Regions from separate parts of the Homo sapiens genome. Here all the other regions are linked to region 1. Evidence: promoter capture Hi-C in 16 types of primary human blood cells and fetal thymus (Javierre and others, 2016). All regions are on one chromosome and are shown on one strand. Each heading gives the region's core, a stretch centred on a gene start or on the middle of the fragment in contact. The rest is flanking DNA. Distances are from core to core; before and after follow the strand shown. Region 1 holds the start of NSUN3 (NOP2/Sun RNA methyltransferase 3). Region 2 overlaps DIPK2A (divergent protein kinase domain 2A). Region 3 holds the start of PXYLP1 (2-phosphoxylose phosphatase 1). Region 4 overlaps COPB2-DT (COPB2 divergent transcript). Region 5 holds the start of FAIM (Fas apoptotic inhibitory molecule). Region 6 overlaps CEP70 (centrosomal protein 70). Region 7 holds the start of STAG1 (STAG1 cohesin complex component).

What was found. Contacts are between HindIII fragments. The CHiCAGO score rates a contact against its expected background, and 5 or more counts as called.
Region 2: a fragment that was not itself captured here is called in contact with the fragment with the promoter of NSUN3 in region 1 in 2 of 17 cell types (non-activated CD4 T cells and total CD4 T cells); the score reaches 8.0 in non-activated CD4 T cells.
Region 3: a contact is called between a fragment that was not itself captured here and the fragment with the promoter of NSUN3 in region 1, in 1 of 17 cell types (total B cells). The highest score is 5.2, in total B cells.
Region 4: a fragment that was not itself captured here is called in contact with the fragment with the promoter of NSUN3 in region 1 in 1 of 17 cell types (total B cells); the score reaches 5.1 in total B cells.
Region 5: a contact is called between the fragment with the promoter of FAIM here and the fragment with the promoter of NSUN3 in region 1, in 2 of 17 cell types (total CD8 T cells and naive CD8 T cells). The highest score is 6.7, in total CD8 T cells.
Region 6: a contact is called between a fragment that was not itself captured here and the fragment with the promoter of NSUN3 in region 1, in 1 of 17 cell types (non-activated CD4 T cells). The highest score is 7.2, in non-activated CD4 T cells.
Region 7: a contact is called between the fragment with the promoter of STAG1 here and the fragment with the promoter of NSUN3 in region 1, in 4 of 17 cell types (non-activated CD4 T cells, naive CD8 T cells, total B cells and 1 more). The highest score is 20.5, in non-activated CD4 T cells.

What each region holds. Positions count from the first base shown.
Region 1 is chr3:94,061,629-94,064,338 of GRCh38, reverse strand. NSUN3 (NOP2/Sun RNA methyltransferase 3) reads right to left here and starts at 1,278. Exons shown (of 6, transcript NM_022072.5): 1 at 1,201-1,278. The coding sequence starts at 1,212. DHFR2 (dihydrofolate reductase 2) reads left to right here and starts at 1,423. Exons shown (of 2, transcript NM_176815.5): 1 at 1,423-1,593. RefSeq lists an enhancer at 1,145-1,384. The HindIII fragment of the contact is 2,538 bases long and covers 1-2,418 here.
Region 2 is chr3:143,976,076-143,978,785 of GRCh38, reverse strand. All of the region lies in intron 1 of DIPK2A (divergent protein kinase domain 2A), which reads right to left. Among named protein-coding and RNA genes, the nearest start is that of DIPK2A, 5.6 kb to the right of the region's middle. The HindIII fragment of the contact is 1,255 bases long and covers 716-1,970 here.
Region 3 is chr3:141,231,109-141,233,818 of GRCh38, reverse strand. PXYLP1 (2-phosphoxylose phosphatase 1) reads right to left here and starts at 1,994. Exons shown (of 6, transcript NM_001037172.3): 1 at 1,908-1,994. RefSeq lists a silencer at 1,876-2,255. The HindIII fragment of the contact is 5,995 bases long and covers 1-2,710 here.
Region 4 is chr3:139,392,565-139,395,274 of GRCh38, reverse strand. The region is part of intron 1 of COPB2-DT (COPB2 divergent transcript); the gene reads right to left. Among named protein-coding and RNA genes, the nearest start is that of COPB2-DT, 4.1 kb to the right of the region's middle. The HindIII fragment of the contact is 2,123 bases long and covers 254-2,376 here.
Region 5 is chr3:138,607,387-138,610,096 of GRCh38, reverse strand. It overlaps FAIM (Fas apoptotic inhibitory molecule), which reads right to left and starts at 1,326. Exons shown (of 6, transcript NM_001033031.2): 1 at 1,160-1,326. RefSeq lists an enhancer at 589-678 and a silencer at 779-1,238. The HindIII fragment of the contact is 4,797 bases long and covers 1-2,710 here.
Region 6 is chr3:138,582,295-138,585,004 of GRCh38, reverse strand. The region is part of intron 2 of CEP70 (centrosomal protein 70); the gene reads left to right. Among named protein-coding and RNA genes, the nearest start is that of CEP70, 11 kb to the left of the region's middle. The HindIII fragment of the contact is 4,704 bases long and covers 1-2,710 here.
Region 7 is chr3:136,750,977-136,753,686 of GRCh38, reverse strand. STAG1 (STAG1 cohesin complex component) reads left to right here and starts at 1,309. Exons shown (of 34, transcript NM_005862.3): 1 at 1,309-1,492. STAG1-DT (STAG1 divergent transcript) reads right to left here and starts at 1,016. Exons shown (of 1, transcript NR_185911.1): 1 at 1-1,016. RefSeq lists enhancers at 1-932, 726-1,045, 933-1,864 and silencers at 1,056-1,285, 1,606-1,985. The HindIII fragment of the contact is 7,208 bases long and covers 1-2,710 here.

The DNA.
Region 1 (2,710 bases), core at 29-2,528:
TTGGATAATTACTAGTTCTTGAAATGGAAGCAATACCTTACATGTACCAAAACTGTACATTATCTAATTATGAAAAAGCAAGGTTTTTCCAAATAATTATTTTCCAAATGTGAAGCAAAGGTTAAAACAGAATCTACTGGGGCTGAAGAAACTGTCAAAAGGAACAAAATTAATTTTAAAAAGTCACTGTAGGGGCTAGGCAGGTGGCTCACACCTGTAATCCCAGCACTGTGGGAGGCAGAGGCGGGAGGATCACATGAGGTCTGGAGTTCAAGACCAGGTTGGCCAACACGGGAAACCCGTCTCTACTAAAAATACAAAAATTAGCCGAGAGTAGTGGTGGGCGCCTGTAACCCCACCTACTCAGGGGGCTGAGGTGGGAGAATCGCTTGAACTCAGGAGGTGGAGGTTGCAGTGAGCCGAGATCGCGCCACTGTACTCCAGCTGGCTCATGCTTTGCAGGGACGAGGCGAGAGGATCATTTCCCAGTTCAAGACCAGACTGGAAAACATATCAAGGACGTGTCTCTACAAAAAGTAAAAAAAAAAAAAAAATTAGCCAGGCGTAGTGGCCTGCTCCTGTAGTCCTAGCTACTAGGGAGGCTGAGGCTGGAGGATCGCTTGAACCCAGGAGTTCAAGGTTACAGTGAGCTATGATGGAGCAGCTGCATTCCAGATTGGGTGACAGAGCAAGAACTTGTATCTAAACAAAACTAAAAAGTCACCGGGGATGCTGACATCAAGAAAAATTGGTGAAAGGTATTTGAGAACTCTGTACTATCTTTGCAACGTTATTTTAAAGTGAAAAGTTAATTTAGGGAGAAAAGTCACTCCAATTTCATCGTGAACTTCCTTGCAATTGTTTCATTTATTCATCCAAGAAACGTGTATTCAATGCCTACTATGTAACAGACACTGTTCTAAGCTCCCGGGATACCGCTGTGACACAGAAAACAAATCTCAGCCCTCCAAGAGCTGGAGGGAGTGGGTACTAGAAGTCTGCGAGCTGGACGGAAGGGACTCAGCATTACAGCACTCAGCATTATTTCAGGGCTTGACAGTAAAGCCAAAGAAACGCTGATCTCGCGAGGGGACGAACAAAGGTGATGTTCCCCCATCCCAGCACCCTCCCTCGCCACCTCGGCCGCGTCCAGAAGCGTCTCATTCAGATAGAGGTACCCAGCCGGGCCCCAGGTCTCACCTGGGTCAGCATTGTCCCGCTGAGAGCTTTCAAACAACAGGTGTACGCGAATCAGTATCAAAAAGCCTCCAGGGAACTGAAAAAAACAGTCTGACTTCCGGGATTCGCGGGCATCCACTTTCATTCTCACGTTTCCTCTTCAATTTCTCGCGAGATACTGATTTGCTCGCGCTATAGAATTCTTGTCGAAGAGGCTTAGCTCCCGCGGGAGATTTCGTGCGCAGTTACTTCCGGTAGCTGGTAAAGGCTGATACTTCCCAGGACGCGGAGGTAACGGGCCAGGGCCAAAGCGACTTTCGCTACTTGGATTGGTCGGCGTAGCTTTGGGCGGCCGGACCTTAGAAAGTCACACATCTGCGCGCCTGTGCGGCCCCTGCTTCTGCGGATGCTGAGGTGGGAGGATCGCTTGGGCAGAAGTTTGAGGTTGCAGTGACCCGTGATCGCGCCACTGCACTGCAGCGTGGGCGACAGAGCGAGGCTTTGTCTCAAAAATAAATAAAAAGTCGCATATTGTGCTGAACAGTGTGTATATGCATGGGGCTCAATAAAGGAATGAGTTTTGGGGTTATGTTGTATGATGACTGATTTAAAATATTCTCAAAGCGAAGCTAGTTACTGACTTAATCTACCAAATCTAGTGACCCCTGTTAACCTAGACATTCAGTACCCAAGGATAAAAGGGTGGAATATAATGAAAAAGAAATTAAGTCATGCTTTTCCCCAGACCTGGCCCATGGGGATAATCTCTCCTTTTAATGGAGAGTGTTAAACTGAAGTAGGCATGTAAAGCGGTTACAACAGTGATTAGGAAACAGTAAATGCCCAAATGTTAGCTGCTATTATTTTCACTATTGTGATCATTGTGATTTTTGTCGCGTTGATACCAAATGCGTGAAGACCAAAAGGACCCTCCACTCTAGCCTCCCCAATTCACCTTTACAAGGGAGCAATGTTTAATGGTTCTCCAAGGAAGATGTTTATTACACCTATTTTGACACGAATAGAAGTTTATTTGCTCTTTTGGTGTCATGCTTCAGTAACTATCATTTGTAGCAGCAATCAGCAATTAGAAAAAACCGGTTTGATATGGTCCCTGATAGTTAATAATCATCATTTTGAGTTGTTCCTTGATGCTCATATCAATATACGTACATGCTATAGGTACAAGTCTTATATTCATGTAAAAACATGTCTTTCCTTCTAATCTGATTTGAAGCTTAATATATTTATTTATTTAAACAAGTTTCCAAGTCACCTAAAAAATGCATCTTATTAGAATTTAGATTTGGTACAAAAGACTATGATAATCAGGAATGAAATGATGCCATCTCTTGGATGCCGTCTGTTTAATGTTTGTGGAAAAGTCGGTCTAACCTTTCAGCCTCTGTATTTTTTATAATTTTATAAATTTATATTTTATAAATATTTTATAAATTTATACTTTATAAATATATTTTATATAATTTATTTTTCTATGTTCATTCCAGAATGTTGCAATTAATTAATACAG
Region 2 (2,710 bases), core at 94-2,593, about 50 Mb before region 1:
CTATTGGCAAAATCTCTGAAACTTTCCCTGGTACCATTCCTATCAATATACAATGAGATGTCCCTCCCTGAGTCATGTGACAGTATATATATATATATATATAGATATATATATATCTATATATAGATATATATATATATATATAGATATATATATATATATAGATATAGATATATATATATAGATAGATAGATAGATATAGATACCTTTTGTACAGGGCTTATTAAATGGATTGTATAATAATTAGTTATTTGTGTACCTACCTCCTACATAGTAAGCTACTTGTTTCCTACGGCCATCTTTCCATCCTTTCAATCCAAATGCCTTGTAACAGATTGTAAAATGAACAGACAAATTCAGTTCTTTTGGTTATAAATTCAAAGAGCTCTCAAGAATTTCACAGACAACTTCCTATCACCTTATACTAACCTCACCTTACACTAATAATTTTCAGTCATGTTACAACCATTTACTAAAGTTCATCAAATGTATTAGAAAAATGCAGGATTTAAATTATAAGGCCATAATTTAACATATGGGTAATGAGTGAAAGCTGAAGAAAGAAAAAAATAGCATTCTGTGAAGAGTCAGCAGCAATGACAGAAAAATAGGAAGTAAGCCAGAGCCCACAAACCAAAAAAACAGAATAAAAACCAGTCTGACAATCCCCTGAGAAGCTGGACACCCATGTCCAGAAGACCTATAAAAACAAGCTTTCTATTTCCCAACATGTGTGAGAATATGTGCTAACCTATGCAATGGAAATATAAAGAATAGTTCAAAGACTAGACAAAAGTATACAAAGGACAAAATTCAAAATGGTCAAAAGATATGGATATGTCCAGAAACTAGTCCAGGATGTCAAATGACTTTGCTCTACTGATTCTGAAGTGATGCTTTCTTAAGGGCGATTGTCTGTTTCTAGGGTCTTTCTAAAATAAAAGTCCCCACCCCCTTTTTGGACTTGAGGTATCCAAAATTGTTTTATTATTTTTGTTTGATTATCTTGAAGAGCAATCAAAAGTGTCAATGGACTCTCAGATGAAAAGCCACAAAAAGTTCAAAAACTTACAAAATTTATTAGATTAAAAACTGCTCTACTAAGAACCATCTCTAATGTGTTCTGAAGCCGAAATCTAGGAAGACAGTTACTAAAGAAACAGCCAGTAAAGGAGAAGTAGGTGGTTCCTTAAACTGTTGTTTGAAAAGAAACTCCTGAAACAAAGTCTGGAACATCGTTTTGCACACTATTGCCTCACAAGATCCTTGGCTACCCTTAACTCCACATATTTCCCCTTAAAGGAAGGTTTTGGTTTTTGTTTTATTTCATGTGTGTAAAAATTTGGGGGTAGGAAGAAAGGCTTGAAAGAGAGCATCCCACTCCCAATCCCCTTTCAGAAGAGCTTAATTAAACCCACTCGTTAAAGTTCAAAAGAAAACAACAACAACAACAACAACAATAAAAACCAAATTTCTCAAGAGTTTGAAAGCCCCAGAATGTTGGAGCTGAAAAGGATCTAATCCAATAGCTTCATTTTATAAAGAAGGAAGTGAGTCCAATAGTAAAAATCTATCAACTTTTCTAAAGTACCGTTAGCTAAATAATCTTTTGTTTACTTCAAAAACTACATTTTCACCAGTGAACTTAAAAAATATGTTGTTCCCTATATAAATTACTTTTAAAGGCAAAAACAACATTCACTGAAAGTTTTCTACAAAAAATTATATCAAAGTAATAATGGAAAAAAATCAGTATAACTAAAGTATGGTTGATATTCAAAATCACCATTATTTTTAAGGTGATCCATACCCCAAATGAGCTTCAAAACAGCTGATCAAATGCACCAGGCAGTTAAAGTTACCTTTACTTTATTCAATATCTAACATTTATTGAATGCTTACAATTTACCAGATACTACGTGAAGTGCTTTGCATGTATTATATCATTTATAAGAATAGAAAAGCAAGCTTAAAAACCATAGCTTAATGATAGTCATATACTATAAAAATAAAGTAAATCCTATTAAAACCATGATTCAGAAAATTTAAGGCAAATGAAGTTCCACAAATAGTAACATTCCCAGCTCGTCCCCCTAAACAACAAAGAGCTTTCTCCATTTCCTACAAACAAGACCATCTTCACTACTTCCAGGTTATAAAGTCAGAGATTCTGTCTGAACTTCAACAAATCCAGACAGCATCTCTCTCTCTCTCTCTCTCTCTCTCTCTCACACACACACACACACACACACACTCTCCCTTTCTGTAAATTCAATAGGTTAAATACAAATACGATGGAAAATTTATCAACAATAACTTGTGATCTTGCCAATTACTTCAACAACTCAATTTTTGAATACTTCAAGATTCCTATTTACACAATATAAAAGTCAACATAGTTCCTCTCCTCCATTTTTTTTTTCATAGGATTACAGTATACCTGGCACTAAAATACACACATCTTAGTGAAGTAAAAATGTGACGACGAGGAAAGGGTATCAGAGTAGAAGATAAAGGTACTACTAGCATTATCTTGTTGCTTGATGTTTATAAACATTTTTTAGAAGATAATAATTCTATGGGTAAACTGTTGTAAACTAGTGAAACTATCCAACAATAAGAAGAAAGCCATACTCTCATGCCATTTCATATGGGGAAATTTATATCACAAATCTTTACAGCCTTACATAGATAAGGTATGTGTGTAAAC
Region 3 (2,710 bases), core at 116-2,615, about 47 Mb before region 1:
GAAGTAATATTGAGCTAACTATTCAAGCTGATCAATAGAAAAAAGAGTTACAGATACTGCAGTTCCACAAACACTCGGAGTGCTGTGCTCCAAAGGCCAGGTGGCCCACGCTGTTCCTGGTGCCCAAACGCAGCCTCCCAAGGCATCAGTGAGGATGGGCTGGCCAGGAGCCAATCCCTAACAGAGAAGTTCCCCCTACACATCCTTTCTCTGAGATAAGCAATTAATTTAATCCAAGACTTAATGAAAGCCAGGAGAAGGGATGGGGCAGATTCATACACTGGCTTTCAGGCTGTCCCGTGCATCTTCACCTCTCTCCAGGGACCACGAGGGTTTTTTTTTTTTTTTTTTTTTTGACAGGGTTTTGCTCTTATTGCCCAAGCTGGAGTGCAATGGCGCAATCTCAGCTCACTGCAACCTCTGCCTCCCAGGTGCAAGCGATTCTCCTGTCTCAGCCTCCTGAGTAGCTGGGATTACAGGTATGCACCACCACGCCTGGCTAATTTTGTATTTTTAGTAGAGACGGGGTTTTTATGTTGGTCAGGCTAGTCTCGAACTCCCGACCTCTGGTGATCCGCCCGCCTCGGCCTCCCAAAGTGCTGGGATTACAGGCGTGAGCCACCGCGCCCGAGGCCTTTTGATCCATCTGCTATAAATCCCCTTCCCACAGATGTCCCGATTGGGCACCAACACCTCTGAGGAGGGTAAGTTACTGCCAAGCCCGACCGCAGTCGCATCCCGTTTGAAAGGGTGGGCTCCGCACTGCCAGCTTCACACCCACGGGCCTTCTGCAAATATCAACAAACGGCTCCATTTGTGGAGCACTCTCCGATCCCCCATCCACCCCCCTACACTTCCCCATTCACAGCTCGATCTGATTCCCCATCTCTCCTGATTTTACTTGTTGAATGCTTACAAAGGATCCTTGCCTTTCCACAAAGACACTGGCTAGCCAGGCGGTGATAACCTCACTCACTACAGAGCCCCCTCGCAATCGCTGAACTCACAGCCGAAGCGGGAAAATATGGCTCCACGTCCTGCACCGTGAATCCTTTACCATCCACAGGTACAATTTAAAAGGCAGCTGCGGCTGCAAAGCAGGCAACCTACCCTAAGCAAATCCATTCTCTCTCTCTCTGTGTGTGTGTGTGTGACAAACCCAGCTTATTTAAAAGATCAGGACATAGGCAAGTTCACCAGCAAAAGCAACGTCGTGGGTCTACACCACACGGTCCTAACCTGCGCATCCAGGAATGTTAACCTGCGCTCGGGCGGCCCCGTGGCCAGGCCCGGGACTCCCGGAGGCGTCAGGCTGCAGGTGGCTGCCAAGAGGAGCCAGCCCCGTCTCCGGGAAAGGCCGCGAAGTTGCGGCCGCCTCCTTACCTGGAGACTAGCCGGCTCAGGACCGCCCGGGAAGGGGGATCCCGGGAGCTTGAATCTCGGCTGGAATCCAGCGGCGGGAGTGCGGGGGCCGTGCGGGAGAGGGCTGGAAGGGCGGGGGCGAGGTGGAGGCGGGCTCCGCGGGAGAGTGCGGGGCTGCGGGGGGCGAGGGCTTGGAGACAGAGCCGGGGGTTCGCAGCGGGCGTGAGACGGCGCCAGCTCTGGGAGAAGGGGGCTATGGGGCGGGCGCCGGGGCTGGGACACCGGGCGCACGGGGGGAGTGGCAGGAAAGAGGGCGCAAGTCCTAGGCTCAGGGGCGAGCGCGGGGATAAAGGAGGAGGCTTAGTCGCGGGATTCGGACCCGACGCTTCGAAGCGCCCCCAGCCTTCCCGCCCCTCTCCCACTGGCGAGTTAGGGGGACCCCCTCAGTCTCCCAACCTCGGACCCTGGACGCCCACCCGCCTAGAACCTCTGCGCTGCTCGGCCCCAACGGCAACCGCCCCGGCCCAGGCCCGCGCCGCACTCACCGCCCATGGTCCCAGGCCGGCCCCAGCTCCGTCGCTGCGCGCCCGGCTCGGCGCTCGCCGCCAGCTCCTCCCGGCGCGAGGGGAGGCGAGGGCGGCGCGCACCCGCCACCGGGGAGCTCGCGGGGCCCGGCAGCGCCCCCTGCCGACCCCGCCGCGCCCCGTCTCAGTTCGGCCGGCCCTGCACCAGGAGCCCTGGAGCTCCGCCCCGGAGGCGGTGTTGCGGTGCGGCTGGGCGGGGGCGACCGCGCGGGGTTGCTGAGAGGACACTGCCTCTGGGAGGCCCAGCACAGCCCGGAGAGACTGGTCAGTCTGCAGAGCCCTCGGCGTGCAAAGCCACGGGCACGGACAAGCCGAGCGCGCAGGGACCACGACCACAGACGCGCAGGGCTCTCGCGTGCCTCACAACTCCTGACCTGCGATCAGGGACTGCGCGGAGGCGCGCCAAGGCCCAGGAACACAGCCCTGGCCGGCCCGGGCCCTAGTGTGGGTGCTTTGGGGCCATGTGCCTGCCCTGGCGCCGCTGATGCTATCGCCGGGTGGGCGCGCGCGTCTGGGGTGCGCCTGCTGCCACGTAGACCCAAACTGTCACCCCCCACCCCCCACCCCTTTCGGCCTATCCCACACTCCTCTTCCGGCTCAGAACACATCCGGCCTTGTGTTGCTCTAGTCCTCGCTGCTGCTCCGTCTCCAACGGTCTGCAGAGACCCGGGGAGGTCGTGGCCCCGCGCAGTCGCCCTTCCCACCTGCTCCCGGCCCGCGGCTTCCTTGGAGCCGCTGCTGAAGATCCTCAGAGCACTTGAGGG
Region 4 (2,710 bases), core at 66-2,565, about 45 Mb before region 1:
CCTGAGCCCCAGGAGCCTCAGGTTTGTAGAGCATTGTTCCAAGCACAACAAAATCTCAACAAAAATTTGCTGATGGAAGGTGGCTTCCAGAGAAAAAGAACAATGCATGCTATGAAAGATGTGGGAAACGCTACTACACTGGCACTTGAATTAAGTAAAGACAAATGCCCATTAAAACACCCTGCAGGCACTCCCCTCATCCACTTCGTTTGACAAGAACATAGAATCACAGACTCAAAAGTATAAAAAAGCTTACAACAGGAAGAGACTTTGGAGCTAATGCTGTCCATTATTATTTTGTAGGTAATAAAACTAAGACCCAGAGATTCACTTCACTTGACAACCCTGGGGCAAAGAAGTACCCAGAGCCCACTGGTCATGACTTACCATGGGGTCTGTACCCCATGAGTGAAGAGTGGGGTAGAGAACGAATCCGCAGATGGAGAACTGTGGAGATCACTAACAAACTCCCCAGTCTACTGCCATATTTACAATGTCTAGCAATTCCCATCTATGAAATCACCTCCTTTGTTTCATTCAAAGCTCACTTTAAACTTTGACTCCTCTAAAAATACTCATTAGAAAAACATAAGGTTAATGTAATTTTTAAGGTAAAATTAACACAAGTCAAACACATTACTAATAATCTGGATTTTTACACTTTCAGGTAAACAAAAGTTAGCATCCTCTGCATCTGGAATTCTACATCAAACTCCCATGGAGTAAATTTAACAAATTTAAAATGTTTAGAAGGTAGTCACATGAAGTGTACAGCACATTGTGGTTGGTCAATGCTTTTGCAATCAGTCCAACATTTGCCTCTAAGTGTTGGGCAACCACAAACTCCATTTTTCTTGGAAGACAGTTCAGTGGATCTCCAACTCAATTTAGTCTGCTGCTGGCTGCTACTTGACTATGTGGTCAAAACTTTTGCTTTCATTCACCTCATACAGAAATCAGGCTGATAATCTTAACATTTCCTCTAACAGGAAAAGTAACTGACATGTGATGATGTATCAGTAATGGAGCATGAAGATTACCCTACTTAACATTCTTAAATGGTTCCCCAGAGCCTACAGGATAAAGTCCAGACTCCTTTAACTGGCTATCATGGATCTTCAGAATCTGAATCTCATTTATCTTTCTAATACCATTTCTCAATCCTCCCCCTTCTTACTCTCTGGCCCAGGCATGCTGAACTATTCTTAGCTCTCTGGAAAAGTCAAATGCTCTAGATATACTCTCTTGACATTTACCTGGCTAGTTCCTACTCACACTACAAAGGTCCATTTAGTGGCCTGCATCCATTTGGAGCCTATCATAATTAAATCAAGCATGCCCTAAATGCAGGAACAGTCAACCCACTTACAGTGAGACACCTCTCACATCAACATTTGCCTTTCTTCACTAATCGCTTGGTAAAATAGTTTATACTGATGACCTCTACTTTTTTTATCATCCAATAATTTCTAAACCCTTTGTAAACTTGCCTTCCCTACCATTACTCAACTTTTTTGAAGGCTGATAGTGTCCTCATAATCATTTATTTCATTGGCAATAGTTTTGGCAAATACTAAGCCTCCTTAAATTCTCTAAAGCTATCAAGATGCTAGTCACCCAGTCACATTTTCCCTTTCTTTTCCTTCTGTGACATAAAGTTATTCTGGGTCTCTTATTCTGATTGTTCCTACACTGACTCCACTTCTTTTTCTTTCACTTTTTCTTCTTTCCTGATTCTCTTTCTCTGATTGTTCCTTCATTGGCTCCACTATCATTCACTGGCTCCACATCTTCCTCTGATTAAAGATATTCTTCTGGGTTCATTAGATTAAAAACATCAGCAATAGGATGCCTCCCACTCCCTCAATTCAACAAACGCATTTGTGTATCCAGTTGATTCTAGCTTCTCAGGGAAAAAAGGAGAAATTACAATCCAGTAAAAAAAGATGTTAGTATCATTAAATATAACTTAGGTTCATATCTCAGGTCTGTCAGTCATGAGCAATGTGGCATGAGGTATACTACTTAATCAATTTAAGCCTCTGTTTTTCATCTATAAATTGGAGAAAATAATGCCTATCTTTTAGTATTACTTTATGAATTGCAGTATGCAAAGTACATATTCCAATGGCAGGTAGGTACATAGTGGGCATTTAATAAAAATTTTTCCTTATTACTGTTATTTCCACACTCACTTCCACCAAACTTATATAGTCTGTTTCAACTTCTTTTAGTGTGTCATACACATCAACAAAAGACAAATCATCTAGAGTACAGATATAAACAGGTTTCCTATCTGGCCCAGTAAGTCCCAACTGCTTGACTCAAAGCTCAATTTCTCCCGATTTAAAAATCTTCAGGTTCTAGCCCCAAGCTTCCTCTTCAACCTTCTCCCTCACTGCTCTTCTAAATGAATACCATTCTCCAAACAAATTGGACCTTTTTTGGTTCTCAAACATGCCGTATACTCTTCACCTCAAAGTCCACCTCAGATTCTACCTCCTTTATGAAACTTATCTCCCTAGCTGGATATTTTATCTTCAGAGTATTTTACTGGTACTTCTCTCAGAAGGTACTCATATTCTGCCTGGTATTCAATTATTTGTGCATAAATAACCTTTCCTGCTTATAAATTGTAACCCCTTTGAAGGGAGAAACTAGGTTCCTATTCGTGCTAGTACTTACCACTTAGCTAAGTGATAACACATGT
Region 5 (2,710 bases), core at 77-2,576, about 45 Mb before region 1:
CAGGTAGGGCCAGCCAATAATGCAAGTCACACTCAAGTGTTGACATCTTCATCTCCGGGCCGGCCCCTTATGAAGTGAGGGGGGTCTCCAGTAAAATCACTCAGGAAGCTCCTCGAGCCAAGTATTCCCAAATGCTACTTACTGGAGGTACAAAAAGGAGAATAACTTTTCTGAGGGCCATTTCACAATCTATACCAGAAGCCTTGTGGTATAGACCGTGGATTCTATCTTGTTTTAGAACGAATCTTGTGCGATTCTTTCTACAGAAATGATCACGCTCAAAAACCCAGATACAACGATGCTCAATGAATTACTTTTTGCAATAACTAAAAACTGAAAACCACTTGTACGCTCACCATCAGGGAGAAACTACATTTAGTAAATCACAGTCCAAAGCCATGCCAAGAGTCAGGGATGGATGAGGTAGTCAACCTGACACACAGGAATGTACAGTCGAGAGAGAGAGAGAGAGAGAGAGAGAGTCGAGAGAGAGAGAGAGAGAGTCGAGAGAGAGAGAGTCGAGAGAGAGAGAGAGAGAGAGAGAGAGAGAGAGAGAGAGAGAGTTTCAGCACTTTATGATGCAGGTTCTGCAAAAACAAGCCCCGCTCATGTTACAAGGAAAAACCATCTGGAAGAATATACACCCTCATGTTAACGCAGCTTGTCTCTGGGGAGCAGCGGCACGGCTGCTTTGCTTGCTTCCTTGCTTTCTGTTCCACGTTTTCGACAGTGAGAAGTATTATCTTTAGAGGTCGCGAACAGGCCGGAGGAGGGTGCGGCAGGTCGCGGGGCAGGGCCTCGCTAGGCAGGGACGCCCCCGCACCGCCCCGGGCTGGCCCCGCGCCCCGCGCCCCGCCGCACCTCCACCTTTGCCGGCGGTGAGCGGGAGCCGCGTCCCGCCCCGAGGTCTGGGATCACCGGCGGGCCGGCTGGAAGCGTCCGGAACTCACCCAGCGTCTCACCCGCGCGGGTCTCACCGACCGCGCAAACACCGCCCGCCGCCGCCGCCCAGAGATGGCCGCCGCCGGCGCAGCAGGGCCGAGAGCGTGGGGACGCCGGGGGGCTGAGTGCAGGGGTTTCCAGGGTGCGGAGCGGGCGGGCCCGAGGCGTCCGGGCGGGCGCAGGCGCGACACCGACCCCACCCGGTCTGCTGCCTCACCTGTGCTCTGTGGGCCGCGGGAGGCTCTGGGGTAGGTTTCACCAAACAACCGGTTGGTTCCGACTCGGCTGCGTAGGCCGCGTGGCCTTGCTCCCCTGGCCGAGAAACAGGCGCAGCCGGCGCGGAGGTTGAAAGCTCTGCAGGCGCGAGTACCAAACGCGCCGACTGTTTGTCGCGCCTCTCAGGTCCCCTGGGGCGACCAGCGCAGGAGGCCACCCCTCCCGCCGCCACGGACCCAACCCTGGTCCTCTGCCTTAGCCGAAGGCCGCACCCTCCGCGCATAGGCCTTCCTCAGCCCCAACCCAGGACATCACCATGTCCCGCAGTGCGTCCAGTCTTCCTGCCAGCAAGTGTGGGTAGGAGCCGGCCGCTGGCCCCGCTCTGGGCTAGACGGTGGGGACATACTGGCGGGCAAAAACAGCCCTGTGCCTGCTCTGCAGCTATGGGGAAGGAATATCTGTTCATGGCAGCAATAGCATTCGCTCCTTAAAACCTCTTTATGAGTCTCATTCCTTTTTTAAAGACCCAAACTACTTAAGGTGGGCATGAAGCCCCCATGTGTGATCTAGCCTCTGCCTGCTTGGCTTCATTTAGGTCCTTAAAGGATGCAGGTTTCTTCTCGCCCAGGGCCTCTGCAAATGCTCTTCTCTCTGCCTGGACACTCCTCACCTCTTCCCTATTGTGAGAGTTCTTCATATATCATTTCTTAGATTACACTATCCTGGCCCATAAGACTTGCAGCATTGCTGGGTGTGGTGGCTCATACCTGTAATCACGGCATTTTGGGAGGCAGAGTGGCGGATCTCTTGAGTCCAGGAGTTCAAGACCAGCCTGGGCAACATGGTAAAAAAAAAAAAAAAGAGAGAGAGAGAATGAGAAAGAAGAAAAGAAAATAATTAGCGGCTCAGGCCTGTAATCCTAGCTACTTGGGACGCTGAGGTGGGAGAATTGCTTGGGCCCTGAAGGGAGGTAGAGGCTGCAGAGAGCTGTGATTGCACCACTACACTCCAGCCTGGGCAACAGAGCGAGACCCTGTTTCATTAAAAAAAACACACACAAAAAGAAACAGCCGGGCTCAGTGGCTCACGCCTGTAATCCCAGCACTTTGGGATGCTGAGGCAGGCATGGCAAAACCCCGTCACTACTGAAAATATAAAACTTAGAGGGGCGTGGTGGTGCATGCCTGTAGTCCCAACTACTTGGGAGGCTGAGGCAGGAGAATCGCTTCAACCTGGGAGGTGGAGGTTGGAGTGAGCTGAGATTGAGCCACTGCACTCCAGCCTGGGCGAAGAGCAAGACTCTGTCTCAAAAAAAAAAAAAAAAAAAAACAGCCGGGCACAGTGGCTTACACCTGTAATCCCAGCACTCTGGGAGGCCAGGTGCGGATTGCCTGAGGTCAGAAGTTTGAGACCAGCCTGGCCAACGTGGTGAAACCCTAGCTCTACTAAAAATACAAAAATTAGCCGGGCGTGGTGGCATGCGTCTGTAATCCCAGCTACTCAGGAGGCTGAGGCAGGAGAATCACTTGACCTTGGGAGGTGGCAGTTGCAG
Region 6 (2,710 bases), core at 59-2,558, about 45 Mb before region 1:
TAGTCCTAACTACAGCAATTCCAGTCCTTTTTCATCTCTGATTTTATTTGAATCTTTTTTCCTTTCTTCCTTCATAGTCTGGCTAAAGGTTTGTCAATTTTTTATCCTTGTTCTGTTCTAGATCTTAGAGGAAAGGCTTTCAGTTTTTCCCGATTCAGTGTGATACTGCCTGTGGGTCTGTCATACATGGCTTTTATTATGTGGAGGTATGTTCCTTTTATACCTAGTTTTTTTAGGGTTTTTTTTTTAAATCATGAAGGAATGTTGAATTTTATCAAGTGCTTTTTCAGTATCAGTTGAAACGATCATATGGTTTTTGTCTTTCAGTCTGTTGATAATGATGTATCACATTGATTGATTTGCATATGTTGAATCATCCTTTCATCCCTGGGATAAATCCCACTTGTTGATGATGAATGATCTTTTTAATGTGTTGTTGAATTTGGTTTGCTAGTATTTTGTTGAAGATTTTTGCATCAATATTAATCAGGGATATTGGCCTGTAGGTTTTTCTCTCTCTCTCTCTTTTTTTTTTTTTTTTTTGATATGTCTTTGTCTGGTTTTGGTATCAGGGTAATACTGGCCTCATAGAATGAGTTTGGATGTATTCCCTCCTCTTCCATTCTTCAGAATAGTTTGAGTAGGGTTGGTGTTAATTCTTTAAATGTTTGGTAGAATTCAGCAGTGAAGCCATGGAGTCCGAGGCTTTTCTTTGCTGGAGGACTTTTTATTATAGCTTCAATGTTGTTAGTTGTTATTGGTCTGTTCAGGTTTTGGATTTCTTTATGGTTCAATCTTAGTAGGTTGTTTGTGTCTAGGAATTTATCCATTTCTTCTAGATTTTCTAGTTTATTGGTATATAGTTGCTCCTAGTAGGCTCTAATGATCCTTTGTATTTCTGCAGTATTGGTTGTAATGTCTCCTTTTTCATCTCTGATTTTGAATCTTTTCTCTTTTTTCTTCATTAGTCTGGCTAAGGGTTTATCAGTTTTCTACATCTTTTCAAAAAACCAACTTTTTGTTTTATTGTTCTTATGTCTTATTTGTTTCAATTTCATTATTTCTGCTGTAATCTTTATTATTTCTTCTACTTTCAGTTTGGTTTGCTCTGCTTTTCTAGTTCTAGTTCATTAGGTTGTTTATTTGAAGTTTTTCTTTTCATGTAGGCACTTAAAGCTATAAATTTCTCTCAGTACTGTTTTCACTGTATCCCATAGGTTTTGGTATGTTCTGTTTCCATTATCATTTGTTTCAAGACATTTTTCAGTTTCCTTCTTAATCTCTTCATTGACCCACTGATGATTCAGGAGCCTATTGATTAATTTTCATATGTTTGAATAGTTTCCAAAATTCCTCCTGTTAACTGATTTCTAGTTTTATTCCATTGTGGTCAGAGAAGATACTTTATATTATTCCAGTTTGTTTTTAATGTTTTAACACTTGTTTTGTGGCCTAACATATGGTCCATCCTTGGGAATGATCCATGTGCTGAGGAGAAGAATGTGTATTCTTCAGCCATTGGATGAAACGTCTGTAAATATCTGTTAGGTCCATTTGTTCTATAGTGCAGATTAAGTCAGATGATTCTTTGTTGATTTTATGTCTGGATGATCTGTCTGATGAAAGGGTGGTGTTGAAGTCTTCAACTATTATTGAATTGAGATTTATCTCTCGAGCTCTAATAATATTTGCTTTATATATCAGGGTACTCCAATGTTGGGTGTATAATATTTACAATTGTTACATACTCTTGCTGAATTGACCTGTTTATCATTATATAATGACCTTGTTTGTCTCTTCTTACAGTTTTTGTCTTAAAATCTCTTTTGTCTGATATAAGTATAGCTACTCCTGCTATACTGGATTCATTGGCATGTAATATCCTTTTCCATTTCTTAATTTTCAGTCTATATGTGTCTTTATAGGTGAAGTGTATTTCAGTTCGGCCACTCTAGTGTTTTGATTGTGAGTTTAGTCCATTTATGTTCAATGTTATTGACAAATAGGGACTTACTACTGTCATTTTGTTGTTTTCTGGTTGTTTTGTGGTCTTCTCTTCTTTTTTCCTTCTTTCCTATCTTTTTTTAGTGAAGGTGATTTTTCTTAGGTGGTATGTTTTAATTTCTTGCTTCTTATTTTTTGTGTATCCATTGTATGTTTTTGGATGTAAGGTCACCATGAGGCTTGAAAATACTATCTTATAATCCATTATCTTATTTATTTATTTATTTTTATTTTTTTGAGATGGAGTCTAGTTCTGTCACCCAGGCTGGAGTGCAGTGGCATGATTATGGCTCACTGAAACCTCTGGCTTCTGAGTTCAAGTGATTCTCCTGCCTCAGCCTCCCGAGTAGCTGGGACTACAGGCACACGCCACCAGAGAATTTTTGTATTTTTAGTAGAGATGGGGTTTCACTATGTTGGCCAGGCTGATCTTGAACATGACCTTGTGATCTGCCCGCCTCAGCCTCCCAAAGTGCTGGGATTAAAGGCCACCATGCCTGGCTCATTATTTTTTATTTTTTAATTTTTTGAGATGGAGTCTCGCTCTGTCACCCAGGCTGGAGTTCAGTGGCGCTATCTTGGCTCACTGCAGCCTCCACCTCCCAGGTTCAAGCGATTCTCCTGCCTCAGCCTCCCGAGTAGCTGGGACTATGGGCATGTGCCACCACGCCTGGCTAATTTTTGTATTTTTAGTAGAGACAGGGTT
Region 7 (2,710 bases), core at 60-2,559, about 43 Mb before region 1:
AGCCAGAGATTAGAAGAAAACGCAAGAAAATTATAAGTAGGAGTCCAGTCACGAATTCATATCCAATCTGGTCAGTTATGACTTCCTCCAGCGAAAAGCCACACATCTTGCAAACCCTTGAGAGAGAAAACACAAATAGGGGTAACCTACTGGAGACAGGCCCTTAAGACTATAAAGTAGTTGAGCGATTCCATACTGAAATAGAGTTGGCTATAGCGATAGAGAAGTTAGTCATATATGGGGCTAATGATCCAGGAGAGTAAGGATTCACTTTTGTGGTGAAAAGTTGTAAGCAGGTGAAAGGTAGGGATCCATGGCCACGGACGGGCAGGTGGAGATCAGGGAAGAGGCGACGTTAAACATAAATAGTTTGTTAATGATTTCACCTTACTGATTATTTCTCTTTTGGCATCTAGAAGGCTAAGATTCTCATGTGTATTTCAGAGCTACTGAAAGTAGTCCTAGGTTGTGGAGGGAGAAATCCACTTTCACAGCTGAGTCTATCTTCTCAGTCTAGTTATATTCTCCTCTCACAAACTAGCCAATGCTGCCGCCTTATGCAAAGCCGACACCACGGAAAGATGTGCTTTACAGAGGCAGGATGACGCCAATCGGCCTAGGGCCGGCGGTGTTTCGTCTAGATTAATGGCGAGGGAAGTCCCCAATAGTCCTTTTGAAACCTTTTCACTCTTGCCTGGTGAAAGCGCTTGTCAGCCGTAAATCGCGAATACAATGCTAAGCTCTGAGGCCCTTGCTAAATCCAAGTAGGAGCAGGGATCTGCGCGGCCTCACCCTCGGGTTTCCGCAGGGCGTCTCGAGAGCTGCGGATGGGGGCAGCAGGAGCCGGGCGGGAACAGAGGAAAGCGCCGGCCCTGAGACCTAGGGAGGAGCCTCGGTGAAGGAACCCGGGGCGGGTTCCTGCCTAGATCTCCAAGAAGCTCCAAAAATGGCGGGCGGCAACTCGGCGAGCCGGACGCGCAGGCGCCACCGTGGCCGTCCTTCCGCCAGCCGCGGGCGGCCCAAGAACCGTCCACAGCGCCCTTATCCAGAAGCCTACGCCTCTCGCGATTGGCTGAACTGCGCGAGCGCTCCGTGTGGGGGCGGGGCCGCCACGCAGCGGCCACGTTTCCCGCCCCGCTGGTGCGCGTGCGCGCAATCCCCACTGGAAAGCGTTTGCGCGCGCCCCTGCCGCGGCCCCTAGCTCGCGCCTCAGCTCCCTCCCCTTTCCGGGCAGGCCCGTCCCGTCAGCAAGGCAGTGAGCACCGCGGCCAGCAGAGGGCGGTCCGGACCCAAGTCTGCAGCGGCGCCATTGGCGTGTGGAAAATGCCACCAGATGGCGGGTTAGGATTGCAGCTCCGTTGAAGGCGCGGCCCCCGCTCCCGAACCCCCGGCGACCACCCCGTAACAACCCCCCCACATCGGGAATAACACACCGGAGACTTTTGGGGGGAAACTAGGTCGATGGTCGGCGGCGCCCGGATGGGCAGCTGAGGTGAGTGCGGGCGGCGGCGACGGCGGCGGGGGGCGGGAAAGAGGGGGAATGCGGCGGCAGCGGCGCGGGGGCTGGAAGCGCCGATCCAAGATGGAGGCCGGGCGAGAGCGAGAGAGCGCGAGCGGCGAGCGGGCGGGCCGGGCGCGGGCCCCGTGCGGGGGAGGGAGGCCGCGCGGGCCTGTGCGGGGTGCGGCGGTCGTGGGCCGTCCGAGTGCCCGGAGAGACGTCTGTGGGCGCGGTGGGCACCCCGGCGTCTTCGTCGCTTGCCACCCCTCCCGCGGGCACCAAAAATTTTGCCCCCGCCCGCCCGGGCACTACGGCGACAGGCGCGGAAGCCTTTGTGGCGCGCTCGGGCCCGCCGCCAAGCCCGCCCTCCGCCCCCCCCCGCCCGGGCTCTCGGGAGTCGCCCGCGCCCAGCGGGGCCGGGCCGACGCGGGCTGGCGCGAATGCCTTCCGCCGCCTGCCGACCTGCGTTTCTGCGGTGTTTTAGCGGCGGCGGCGTCACATGACAACGAGTTCATTTCAGCGGAGGGGCCTGGGGGGTCGCTCGGCGGGGCGGCTGGCCCAGGCTTCTTGTTGGCGGGGTGGGGCAGCGGGGTGGCGGCTGGGGGAGATGCATCAATGCTGGGCTTTCCAGCTATCTGCCCTCTCAGCCCCCGACGGGGGCCTCCTTGTGAAACGTGTCCAGGCCTAAGCACTGCCCCGCTAGTTTGCCAGTCCCCTGAGAGACGAGGCCAATAAAAGTTGTTTTCCCTCCTTTCTCGAGGTGGGGGCGGGGTGGGAAACTAGAGTGCTTGGAGTTGGACCTGAGCCCCGTTTGCAGGGTCCGAACTGGGTTCTTCTTGTATGGTATGGGTACTAAGAAATTTTCAGGTTTTAGGATTGTCACGTCACCCCCATCTACCCACATTTGAAATGTTATCTGTCGATTCTCTTCACATTGCAGGGAATCGTGCTCCGGGAGTATAAGTCATAGGATAGTTTTGGACACTTACAGACAAAAAAAAAACAAAAAAAAAAAACGCAATTTGTCATAAAAAAAAATTATTTGCTGTTAAAGTTGGTGTTAAGATGGATAGAGTTTATTCTCGTGATTCTGACTAGAAAGACTTGCATCTTCGCAAAAATAGTGTTTACTTGAGAAAGTATCTGAATTGGCACAAAGTTGTGTGATTTGTAACTTATCTGGAATTTGAATGACTCTACATTTTAGTTTTC